Linked DNA regions of Homo sapiens: regions 1, 2 and 3 are each linked to region 4. The links are contacts of gene promoters, found by promoter capture Hi-C in human tissues and cell types (Jung and others, 2019). All regions are on one chromosome and are shown on one strand. Each heading gives the region's core, a stretch centred on a gene start or on the middle of the fragment in contact. The rest is flanking DNA. Distances are from core to core; before and after follow the strand shown.

Region 1 (2,700 bases), core at 131-2,630, 810 kb before region 4:
AATTCCAACTAAAATTATTTCTGTAGGCAGAGCCTATCACAATTGCTGAAATTATAGCTAGGAAATTAGCAAATGCCCTATCATACAGTAATTTATCTTTCCATTTTTTTGATGATATGGAAAATGAAACTTTTTAATCTTTAAGTTTCCATTAATTGATTGCATATTATAGAACTTTTATAAATATGATTCTTACATTAGACTATGAGGTAGATATTATATCTTTGTTTTACAGAAAAGAAAATTGAGGATCAGAAAATACGCACAATTTGCAAAAACCATGGGTGAGTAGATGGCAGAGTGTAGATTTGAAAGCAGTGTTGACTTTAAGCCTGTGCCTCCAGTAACCTTCCCATGATACACAGTCACCATTCAAAGAATATTTGTTGAGGGAGTGATTTTTTTTAACAGGATTAAAAATATAAAACAAGAAGGAGGAGGTATGAGGCAGCTATCTAAATCCATCCTTCCGCTGCAGATTTTAAAGCCTTTTTCCTTTTCCATCTTGCCTGCCTAATTATTTTATCATTTTAACACATTGATATATTCAGTGACTAATCCTTTACTGCCTTGCAAATATGTTACAAGCATTTTCTAAGTCCTAGAATTGAAAAGTAATGATTACTTAAAAAAAAAAAATCAGTGACTTCATTCAGGAAAATCCACTGGTATCCAGGCCGGTGGATTCAGGCTCAGCAGTAAGGTCTTGCTTTTTGTCTTCTTTGCTTTCTTCTCTAAAACATTTTTTCAAATTGAGAAATTTTAAAAACCGTGTCTATTTATGGTGCACAATATGATGTTTTGAAATATGTGTACATTGTGGAATGGCTACATCAAGCTAATTAACATGTACATTACCTCAAACAGTTTTCATTTGTTTGTAGTGAGAATATTTAAAATCTCTGAGCAATTTTCAAGTATACGACACGTTGCTGTTAACCAGAATCACCATGTTGTAGAATGGATATATTGAACTTGTTCCTCCTGTCGAACTGAAATTTTGTATGGTTTAACAATCCCCTATTTCCCCCCCCACCTCCAGTCCTTGGTAACCACCATTCTACTCTCTGCATCTATGAGTTTGACGTCTTTATGTTCCACATCATGAGATGTTTTGAGATAATGTGGTATTGCTCTTCCTCTGCCGGCCTTATTTCACCCAGCATAATGTCCTCCAGGTTTATTCATGTTGTCAAGAATGATAGATTTTTCTTTTCTTTAAGGCTTTACTTATACCACATTTTCTTTGTCATTTATCCCTTGATGGACAGAGGTTATTCCATATCTTGGCTATTGTGAATATTGCTATAGGGAACATGGGAGTGCATATAGCTCTCTGACATCCCAATTTTTATTTTATTTCCCCTTCTTTTAAGCATTTCTTAAAGTTCTCACCTTCACCTTTTATTATTCGAAAGAATTGTGAGTAGCAGTTGTGTGGTTCAAGAGCACACTGCAGTCTTCCTTGTGTTCATCTATATTATCTGGGATATTTTGTTAGTTCTGGTCTGCAAGCTTCAAGGCTTATTGATAGTTTGAGTCACCAAATAGCCAATAAGACCTTATGGGTTATAGAATAAACATTCAGACTCCTTTTTCTGGTCTTTATCATCCTTCGTAGTATAGTCCCAGTCTATTTCTTTAAATTTATCTCCCTCTATTTCCATAAATATTCTCTATCCTAAACTCATTGCCTAATTAATTCTTGAACATGCCACATGCATTCCCATGCTGCACTTTTGCTAAAACCAATCCTCAGCCTGGAATTCCCTTTCTACTCCTCTGCCAATCCAATCCTTTTTTTGCACATCCAATTCAAGTTCCACCTCTTCCCTAAAGATAGTATTTTTTTCTTGGTGGCATTTATTTAGTTTTCAGAATATGCAATTTATATTATTATTATAGCTTTTGCTCTCAGATCTTTTTTGCTATAAAAATATTTATTTATTTTTATTGATACACCATAGCTGTACATATTTTTAGGGTACATGTAATAATTTGGTACATTCATATAATCAAATCAGGGTAATTGGGATGTCCAACATCTTAAATATTTATCTTTATGCTAGGAATGTTCAAATTATTATCTTCTAGTTATTTTGAAATGTGCAATCACTTCATGTTAATTATAATTAACCTACTGATGTATCAAACACCAGGTCTTATTTCTTCTAAGTGTGTGTTTGTACCTGATATGGTTTGGCTCTGTGTCTCTAGCCAAATCTCATGTAAAACTGCAATCCCCACAGGAAGGGCCTCATGAGAGGCAATTGAGTCATGGGGGCAGACTTCTCCCTTACTGTTCTCATGAGATCTGGTTGTTTAAAGGTGTGCAGCCCTTCCCCCTTCGCTCTCCTTCTTTTCTGCCACCATATGAAGACATGCCTGCTTCCCCTTCACCTTTCTGCCATGATTATAAGTTTCCTGAGGCCTCCCAGCCATGCCTCCTGTACAGCCTGTAGAACTGTGAGTCAATTAAACCCCCTTCCTTTATAAATTACCCAGTCTCAGGTAGTTCTTTATAGCAGTGTGAGAACGAACTAGTATAGTACCCATTAATCAACCTCTCTTCATCCCCTCAGCTCCCTACCCTCTTTTATCATTTATACTTTAGTCTCGCAAGTAGTTCTCTATTTTTGTCTCCTTGGTCATTCTCAACAGTACTTTTCAGACAGTACTCTGAAAAAAAAATCACCCAGA
Region 2 (2,700 bases), core at 107-2,606, 940 kb before region 4:
AATACAACAAGGAGGACTACTTTTTAAATGGATTAGATCATTTCAGGGGAACTAATTCTGTTGTGAAATCACTTATCAGAAGACTGTCAAAATCATTTAAACAATCTATGTTTTTGAGCCCCAGGAAGCCTGGGGAATCTAGGTGGGATGCCCTGTGGCATCTAGATGCTTGCGTGTTACAACCCAGCAGATGAGCGGGGGGCACAAGGGAGAGTCCAGTTGACCTGCTGGCCAGACAATGGGATGGTGCCAGGCACTTAGGGCACTTAGCATGTGCCGATTGTATACTTATTGAAAGTGACAGGGTGCAGGGTGATAAGGAGAATGTGTTTTGGTCTCTGACTCCAAGGGCGGAGCTTGAAAACATTCATTCACTCAACACTCAGTAATTAGCTACTGAGCATATTCTGTGGGCGTGGCGTGGGGGGAGTGGGCGGGTCATGTCAGTCATTCCTCCCTGAAGCTTGCAATCAAGTTTAACCTTATTTTTCTCCAGTCCTGACTTAACTCATGGCAGAGGCAAGCCACAGTTTATGACGGAGTTCTTCTGGCAGAGGACATGATGTATGTCAGTAGAGCTGGGGCCCTCGAGTGGCCACAGTCAGAAGTAGGGCTGGGTGGTCTTCAGGCTGTGGTGGGCATATCAGCCAGGATTGTAACCAGCCTCAGCAACTCAATGATGTGAGACAATTTTTTTTTCCAATAAATGTATTTATAACACTTTAGAGAAACCTGATTTTTTAAAGGGTTGTAATGCATCACAGAATCAGTAATCCATAAAGTGTGAGGACCTTCGGTGCGTCTGGGCATGAATTTGCATCTGAAAGTCTCACCTGGGTGGTTTCTTAACAGAATTAACCTTTACGTTTTGATGTGAACCCAACCGAGGCCGTGGGGCATAGGAGGTAATAGTAGAAACATTGTTCTGGTCTGACAGTGAGACTCCTTGCCTGGTCACCACAGAATGGGGAAACCAAGTATTGTGGCAATTATCTCAATAATCCAGGTCAAGGTAAGCATCCGTCTTTTTTCAATGTTAGTTTCCGATCTGATTTACTAATTCCATATATCTTTAAGTGAAGCCCACCCTTTTCTCTTCTGGACAGGCCCAAATTCTCAGCTGACATAAATCATGACTTAACACAGATTTCAAACCCAATTTGAGAGTCGTCATTGGCTTTGCCTGCACACACCTGCTTTCTCATGCTACCTCTTGCTCTCATCAGCACCACAGAAAGAGCTTCTGTTCTAACCTCAGCTTTTTACTCAAACTATAATGGCCCTATACAAGCCACAAAGGTGGAATCTTCTTTTAAGTAGTCACGAGAGCAAAGCGTATGAAAGTGTAGAGCGAAACCATTTCCAACAGTGCTTGAGTGAACGGTTTCTTCTAAGTGTTTGGATGCTTACAAATTCCTAGAAAGGCTGACATTTCAGAATTTAACACTGTCAATTTAGATGTGGAGAAAGTGGTGGGAGGGGACTGGAGGCAACAGTTCAGCCCCACTCCCATGCATTCCACACACCTTCCCACCTATTCTCAGGTCTGAATCAGACGCCACACTAGTGGTGAGCATTGGGGGGGTTGAATTGGCCATTAAAGTCTAAGAGATCACAGGGCACAGTCAGTGTTTACTAACATGAGGGTGAGAAGAAGACTACGTTACTAGTGATTATTAATTAACAGCAATGGAGATTTATAGTATGTTGGATGCCCCACATTTAACCCTCCCAAGAGAACTGCAGGCTCCACAATAAATCTGTCAAATATCTGTTCTGCTCTGTGATAAAATTAGCACAAATGTATGCACATACAAACTACACAGTCCAGAGGTTTGGATTTTGAGGAGCACATTTTGAGGGATGGATAAGCCTTTTAAAAGCTGAATCCAAAATCCCATCATAAAAGGTAAATACAAATATAATAGGCTCAAACTTTCATAAACAGCTGGGGAAGGAGAGCTCAGAGTTGAAGGCAACCCACAGCTGACTAGAACCTCTGCAGAACCGCAAGCAAAAAGAAGTGTCTGCCTGCTGGAAAGACTCTGGGCTGGCATAGATAGAAACAAACCAAGAAGAATGAGACTCAGAGTAATTGCAAAGAATGTGGGCTTCATCCTTACTCAGCCCTGGGTTCAAAGCCCCTCTATTTATAACTCTGGAGACGTGACTTAACCTCTCCTGAGCTTCATTTAGTTTGTGAAATGGGGTAGTAATACTCCTACCTCCTAGGGTTGCTGTGGGTATTAAACAAAATAGTGTGTGTGGAAATGAATCTCTGCATTGGTCCTCAGTGGGCAATTGATAACTGATGGCAGCTGTCCTTCTAGGAAGCAATTTAAAAGCCAGGAAAGACAAAACCAAAACCAATCCAAAAACCAGCAAATACTTCCCAGAAGAAGCAAATGAACAGTTCTCTGGCCGATGGCTCTCGAAAGAAAGAAGAAAACAGAATTAGATTCCCTCCTGGGCTGCCGTTTAGGTTCTGGCCACCTGCTGAGAGAGGATACCAAGCAGGCTGAGAGAGAGAGAGAGAGAGAGAGACAGAGAGAGACAGACAGAGAGAGAGAGAGAGAGAGACAGAGAGAGAGAGAGAGACAGAGAGAGACAGACAGAGAGAGAGAGAGAGAGAGAGAGAGAGAGAGAGAGAGAGAGATGGTGGGGAGGGAGGGAGGGAGAGAATGTGGCCTGTGTTGGGTT
Region 3 (2,700 bases), core at 86-2,585, 720 kb before region 4:
GCTGAATGCCAAGTATAAAACAGAAACAGAGTCCTCAAGGACAAGTTGTCAGGAGCCACAAGAAGGGGGTCCTTCCAGAAGCTGTGGGAATCCAGGGCAGCGGGAAAAAGCCTTACAGGGTCAGGGGTAAGAGCTAGTGGGGAACCTTCATCAGCCTGGAGCAGGTCCATAAAGCTGGAATAAAAAGTGAGAAAAGAAATACCTTACAGGTGAGGCTTGCACCTGAGGTTGCATGTCTGCAGGCTGATCATATAAAAGATTTATTTCTTCATGTTGTACCTTTGAAGATGATCAGATTATGTTTGCTAACCATCGTGAGCTTCTTGGATGAAAAACGCAAGATGAACCTTGGATAAGTATCCACACACACAGCAATCAGCCAGCAGGTAGGATTCGGTCTCTGTGCTGAGTCATTTCCGTATTACATTGAAATAAGTAATACAGTTCTCTTGGCAGTATTTTTGTTTTTAAAGTAAGTTGGGATGAAAGCTGGCGCCTAGGCTATTTATCCTCATCTGAAATGTGTGCAAAACAACACTGAGAAAATACTCTTTGGTGTAGACAGGAGGAGTCCTTAATAAAGTATTTATTTGCACCTGATTTCTCCTTGTTTTTACTGGGTTCATTTAATTTGATAGATCATCTACGCCTCAGTATAATGCCATGGAAATCTAATGAAGATGCATAGTGCTGAGTGCATTTTCTGTACCGATTCAGCCACTGTGGTTGGGATAACCATTGAGTTTGTCTTAGTCGGCTGAGACTGGCAGAACAAGACACACAGACCAGGCAGCTCCAACAGCAGACATTTATTTCTTGCCGTTCTGGAAGCTGGAAGTCCAAGATCAAGGTGCCAGAGCTGGTTTCTCCTGAGGGTTCTTTCTGTGGCTTGCAGAAGGCCGTCTTCTCGCTCTGGCCTCCCACAGCCTTCCTCTGTGTATGCACATGCCAGGCGTCTCTTCCCCTCCTGATAAGGACACCTGTCCTATTGGATTAGGGCCTACCCTTAGGCTCTCATTTAATCTTAATTATCTTGTTAAAAGCCCTGTCTTCAAATACAGTTACATTGGGATTTAGGGCTTCAACATGTGAATCTTCAGGGGACTCCATTCTTTGCAGGGCTGTTCACAAACGTTCCATTTCTTCTCCTGGGCATTTGGCAAGATTGCACCATCCCTGCTCTTTTTGGACTTGGTTGTGGATGACTTACTTTGTTCAATGTATGTGATGAAGAGACATGAAACTGACTAGGAAGAAGCTTTAAAATCCAGGGCACGAATCCCATTGATAATGGTTTGGCTCTGTGTCCTCACCCAAATCTCATCTCAAATTGTAATTCCAAGGTGTGGAGGGAGGGAGGTGATTGGATCGTGGGACCACTTTCCCCCCATGCTGTTCTCGTGATAGTGAGTGACTTCTCACAAGATCTGATGGTTTTATAAGGGGCTCTTCCACCTTCGTTTCCTCCTCTCTCTCACCTGCTGCCATGTGAGAGATGCCTGCATCCCCTTCTGTCATGACTGTAAGTTTCCTGATGTCTTCCCAGCCATGCGGAACTGTGAGTCAATTAAACCTCTTTCATTTATAAATTACCAACTCTTGGGTATTTCTTTATAGCAGTGTGAGAACGGACTAATACACCCGCATTCTCTTCCCCTGAAAACAGTAGTACTAGGCCGGGTGCGGTGGCTCATGCCTGTAATCCCAGCACTTTGGGAGGGCGAGGTGGGTGGATCACCTGAGGTCAGGAATTTGAGACCAGCCTGGCCAACATGGTGAAATCCTGTCTCTACTAAAAATACAAAAATTAGCCAGGCATGGTGGCGCATGCCTGTAATCCCAGCTACTCGGGGGAGCTGAGGCAGGAGAATCGCTTGAACCTTGGAGGCAGAGCTTGCAGTGAGCCAAGATCGCGCTACTGCACTCTGACTGGGCTGGGCTGCAGAGTGAGACTCTGTCTCGAAATTAAAACAAACAAACAAACAAACAAACAAACAAACAAAAAAAACAGTAGTTCTGGAGGTACACATAAATAAGATGAAATCTTCGGTGGAGCACTGCTGGCTGGTGCTGACCGTTTAATGTGAATGCAACATTTTAAATATGTATACATATATATGTACATATATACATATATGTATAGCTGTGTCTCTGCGTATATATGTGTGTATACATATATATGTCTACACAAACACTTTTTTTTTTTTTGAGATGGAGTCTCACTCTGTCGCCCAGGCTGGAGTGCAGTGGCACAATCTTGGCTCACTGCAACCTCCACCTCCCAGGTTCAAGTGATTTTCCCACCTGAGCCTCCTGAATAGTTGGGATTACAGGCATGCACCACCACACCCCGCTACTTTTTGTAGTTTTAGTAATACATGGTCAGGCTGGTCTTGAACTCCTGACCTCGTGATCCGCCTGCCTCGGCCTCCCAAAGTGCTGGGATTACAGGTGTGAGCCACTGCGCCCGGCCTACACACACACTTTTAAGAATGTTTAGCCATTGATATTTTGCGGTTGCTTTTTGCTTGTGCATAACCTAGCCCATCCTGACTTGCACAATGGTCAAGCATTCATTTGCTGTGACACGTGGATTGATAAAACCCAGCATTCACCTTTACATTCACCCTTCCTCCTATGTCAAAATATAGTATACTATAGTAGTTATTTTGGCAAATAATTTTCTTGTGTTCCTTTTTA
Region 4 (2,700 bases), core at 144-2,643:
CGGAAAAAAAAAACCGGACAGCCCATTCCTTCTTTTTTTCCCCACTTAATTCGCTAAAGCGCTTCCTGGGGTAGCCAAAGAGAGTCGAAACTAAGGGGTGGAAACTTCAGCTGGGTTTTTTCCCACCTCAAAACCTTTATTTTCAGTTTTTAAAAGCCACCTTAGCCCGCCATATTGAAACTGGCACGGTTTCTAAAGACTCCTTCCCCGCAGTTGTGGCGCTTCCAAGAAAACACGAGTACGGATCAGGCTCTGGATGAGTGTCCGGCCACCGAGAATCAGCCACTTCCCACCCTCCAGGATCCCCCAGCTCCCTCCAGCCCCTTCCCACCGCCCCTGGTCAAAATCAATAAATACATCTCGCAGTTCCTACAGTTGCATTTTGGCGGATTTCTGCAAAACATACACACACATACACATACCCACGCACGCATATTAAAAAATAAACTCCAGAACCAGCTCAAGTCAGCAATTTTGAAAGGGGGTCGAATAAGAGGAGACAACCGGAAAGCCCCTAAGTGACAGGATATTACTTTAAAGAGAAAATAATGAACAAAAAGACCATCCTCGCTGGAGCACGCTCCAAAACTACTACTGCCAATTTTATTTCAGTTGCTCAGGCAAATGTTTCCAAGGGAGCGATTCCGAATGTCTGCACGATTTTTACCCCCATGCCGGTCTCCGATTCCCCGTCCTCACCATCTTTTTCTCCCACCCAAACCAAAAGAAAGGGGAGACCCCAGCGCGGAGGAGACGCGGGAGCGCGGGGTAGGTAGCAGCGGCGGCTGCGTCGCTAAAATGAGTGCAGAAACGAGGAAGGTGGGCGGCGGGAGGGGACAGGCTGCGCCCGGGGAAGGAGGACACTTTGCAACTCCGGACGGACTCCCGCACGGCTCGGCTTTTCCGAGCCCGGAGACGCAGGCGAAGGGGACCCGGGAAGCAAAAATGACAACCTGGAGCGCACAGAGGAGTTTGAAGCTTCGCTCAAGTGCAGTCGCTTTCTTCTCCTGCCCTTCTCTTTCGCTCCCCTGCACCCTCCCCAGCCTTCCCCCACCCGCCACCTCCAACCCCAGCTCCCTCAGGCTTCCTTCCTTTTTTTTTTTTTCCTTTTTTTTCCTAGGCTGGAAAAAGCCCCTGACCAGCGCACTCAACCTGCGGGCCGAAGGGCTGCTCTCCGGCCAGCCTGGGCGCCGGGGACAGCAGCCGGCGCGGCGTCCTACCTGGTGAAGTTCGTCCTGCCCTCGGCGTGGACCCAGGCCCCGGTCGCCGCCCGGGAGGGCACCGGCCTCGCTCGCTTGCTCGCTCGCCCGCCCTTGCCCGCTCGCTCCCCGCCCGCCGCCTCCCTCGCGCGCCCGCTCCGGTCCTCCGGCTCCCACTACAGCTCATTCCAATATGGCATCCTCTCTGTGCGCATGCTCGGCGCTCTTTTTTTTTTTTTTTTTTTTTTTTTTTTAAGATTTTGTGTGTGTGTGTATGTGTGTGCGTGCGCGTGCAGCGAACTCCTTCAACGACCTTTTCCAGCGCTTGCAAAATTTCTTAAGCCAATTAGCCTGCGGGACGTGATCGGCTCCTTCCCCAGCCAGCTCCGCGCCATTCCCTGCGCCTAAGCAGGCGGGCACCCCCAGGACCCTGGGACCTTCCACGCCCACGCGGCCTCCTCCCCACCGCGCTCCCCTTCCTCCTTTTTGTGAGCTCCCTCCATACATGATCTGCAGAAAGTTCCCATCGCGGGCGTTTCCGCACACCCCTCCGCAAGGACAACTGGGCAAACTCCCGTTTCCCTGGCTGCGGTTCGTGAGCTGGGTTTCCAATGGCTCAGTCGACCGTGTGCACAAACTTGCGCTTTATCCGCCGGGGATCGCTGGGAGCGGAGATAAATTCAATCCCCAGGGCAATCTTGGCCCCGCCCGCCCCACCCCATCCTGTGCTTAAATAGAGCCTTTCTTGAAGCTGCGAACATTTCCAGGCCCCTTGGGCAGGGCTGGAGGGGCCGAGGAGAGCTATTCGAGGGAAAGGTGCCCCGAGGGGCAGGAAATTAAGTTGGGGCTGCCCGGGCGAGCTGCCAGGTAGCCGTGCTCGCCACGGCGTCTCATGGGGCACCTAGCTAGTGGCGGGCCTCATAGGGCGGGAAAAGAATCGTCGCTCACACCCCAGCAAAACGTGGCCCTCGACGGTCCGTTGGAGAGCCCCGGCGGCCGTGAGCCCCGGGCAGGGCTGGACGTCTGCGGAGCCCTCGGGCACTTTGTCCCGGGCGCCTGGGGAGGAACGCGGAGCTCCCAGGGCCTTAGGTGCAACGGCTGCGCAGAGCCCAAACGAAATGTCCCCAGTGCGGAAAAGCCGGTGACGCCCTGGTAGCAAGACCAAGAGCTTCCGAAGAACGCTGCGCCCTTAACTAGGGGGCCTCGCAGAGATGCCTGTGTGGGCCTGCATTGTATATTTCTGCGAAATAGCGAATGGACACGTTTGCTCAGGGTTTTTATGGTTGCCAAAGGGGGTAAAATTACCCAGTCCCCCAAATCTGTGTCCCATGAATCCCTCTCATAGTACCCCTCTCCAGGGGGCCAAGAGGTCCTCCAGGTCCCCGTGGGTTCGCAGCTCCACCCGCCCTTCCTCGCCCTGCATCCCTAAGGAGAGGTGTCCGCTCTGAAGGGCTAGGGGCCAGCCATGGAGTGAGGGGACCGGGGCTGACCACGCGCGGCA

Evidence for each region. The method cuts DNA at HindIII sites, captures the fragments that hold promoters and counts their contacts. A contact is called where the count stands out against the background at its distance.
Region 1: a fragment that was not itself captured here is called in contact with the fragment with the promoter of SFMBT2 in region 4 in 1 of the 25 tissues and cell types used here (hippocampus).
Region 2: a contact is called between a fragment that was not itself captured here and the fragment with the promoter of SFMBT2 in region 4, in 1 of the 25 tissues and cell types used here (spleen).
Region 3: a contact is called between a fragment that was not itself captured here and the fragment with the promoter of SFMBT2 in region 4, in 2 of the 25 tissues and cell types used here (dorsolateral prefrontal cortex and spleen).

The regions. Positions count from the first base shown.
Region 1 is chr10:6,596,611-6,599,310 of GRCh38, forward strand. No RefSeq gene overlaps it. Among named protein-coding and RNA genes, the nearest start is that of PRKCQ-AS1, 18 kb to the left of the region's middle. The HindIII fragment of the contact is 3,616 bases long and covers 1-2,700 here.
Region 2 is chr10:6,464,777-6,467,476 of GRCh38, forward strand. All of the region lies in intron 12 of PRKCQ (protein kinase C theta), which reads right to left. Among named protein-coding and RNA genes, the nearest start is that of PRKCQ, 110 kb to the right of the region's middle. The HindIII fragment of the contact is 8,825 bases long and covers 1-2,700 here.
Region 3 is chr10:6,688,851-6,691,550 of GRCh38, forward strand. No RefSeq gene overlaps it. Among named protein-coding and RNA genes, the nearest start is that of LINP1, 47 kb to the right of the region's middle. The HindIII fragment of the contact is 4,159 bases long and covers 1-2,700 here.
Region 4 is chr10:7,409,641-7,412,340 of GRCh38, forward strand. It overlaps SFMBT2 (Scm like with four mbt domains 2), which reads right to left and starts at 1,394. Exons shown (of 21, transcript NM_001387889.1): 1 at 1,221-1,394. RefSeq lists a silencer at 1,268-1,407 and enhancers at 1,643-2,563, 2,564-2,700. The HindIII fragment of the contact is 7,941 bases long and covers 232-2,700 here.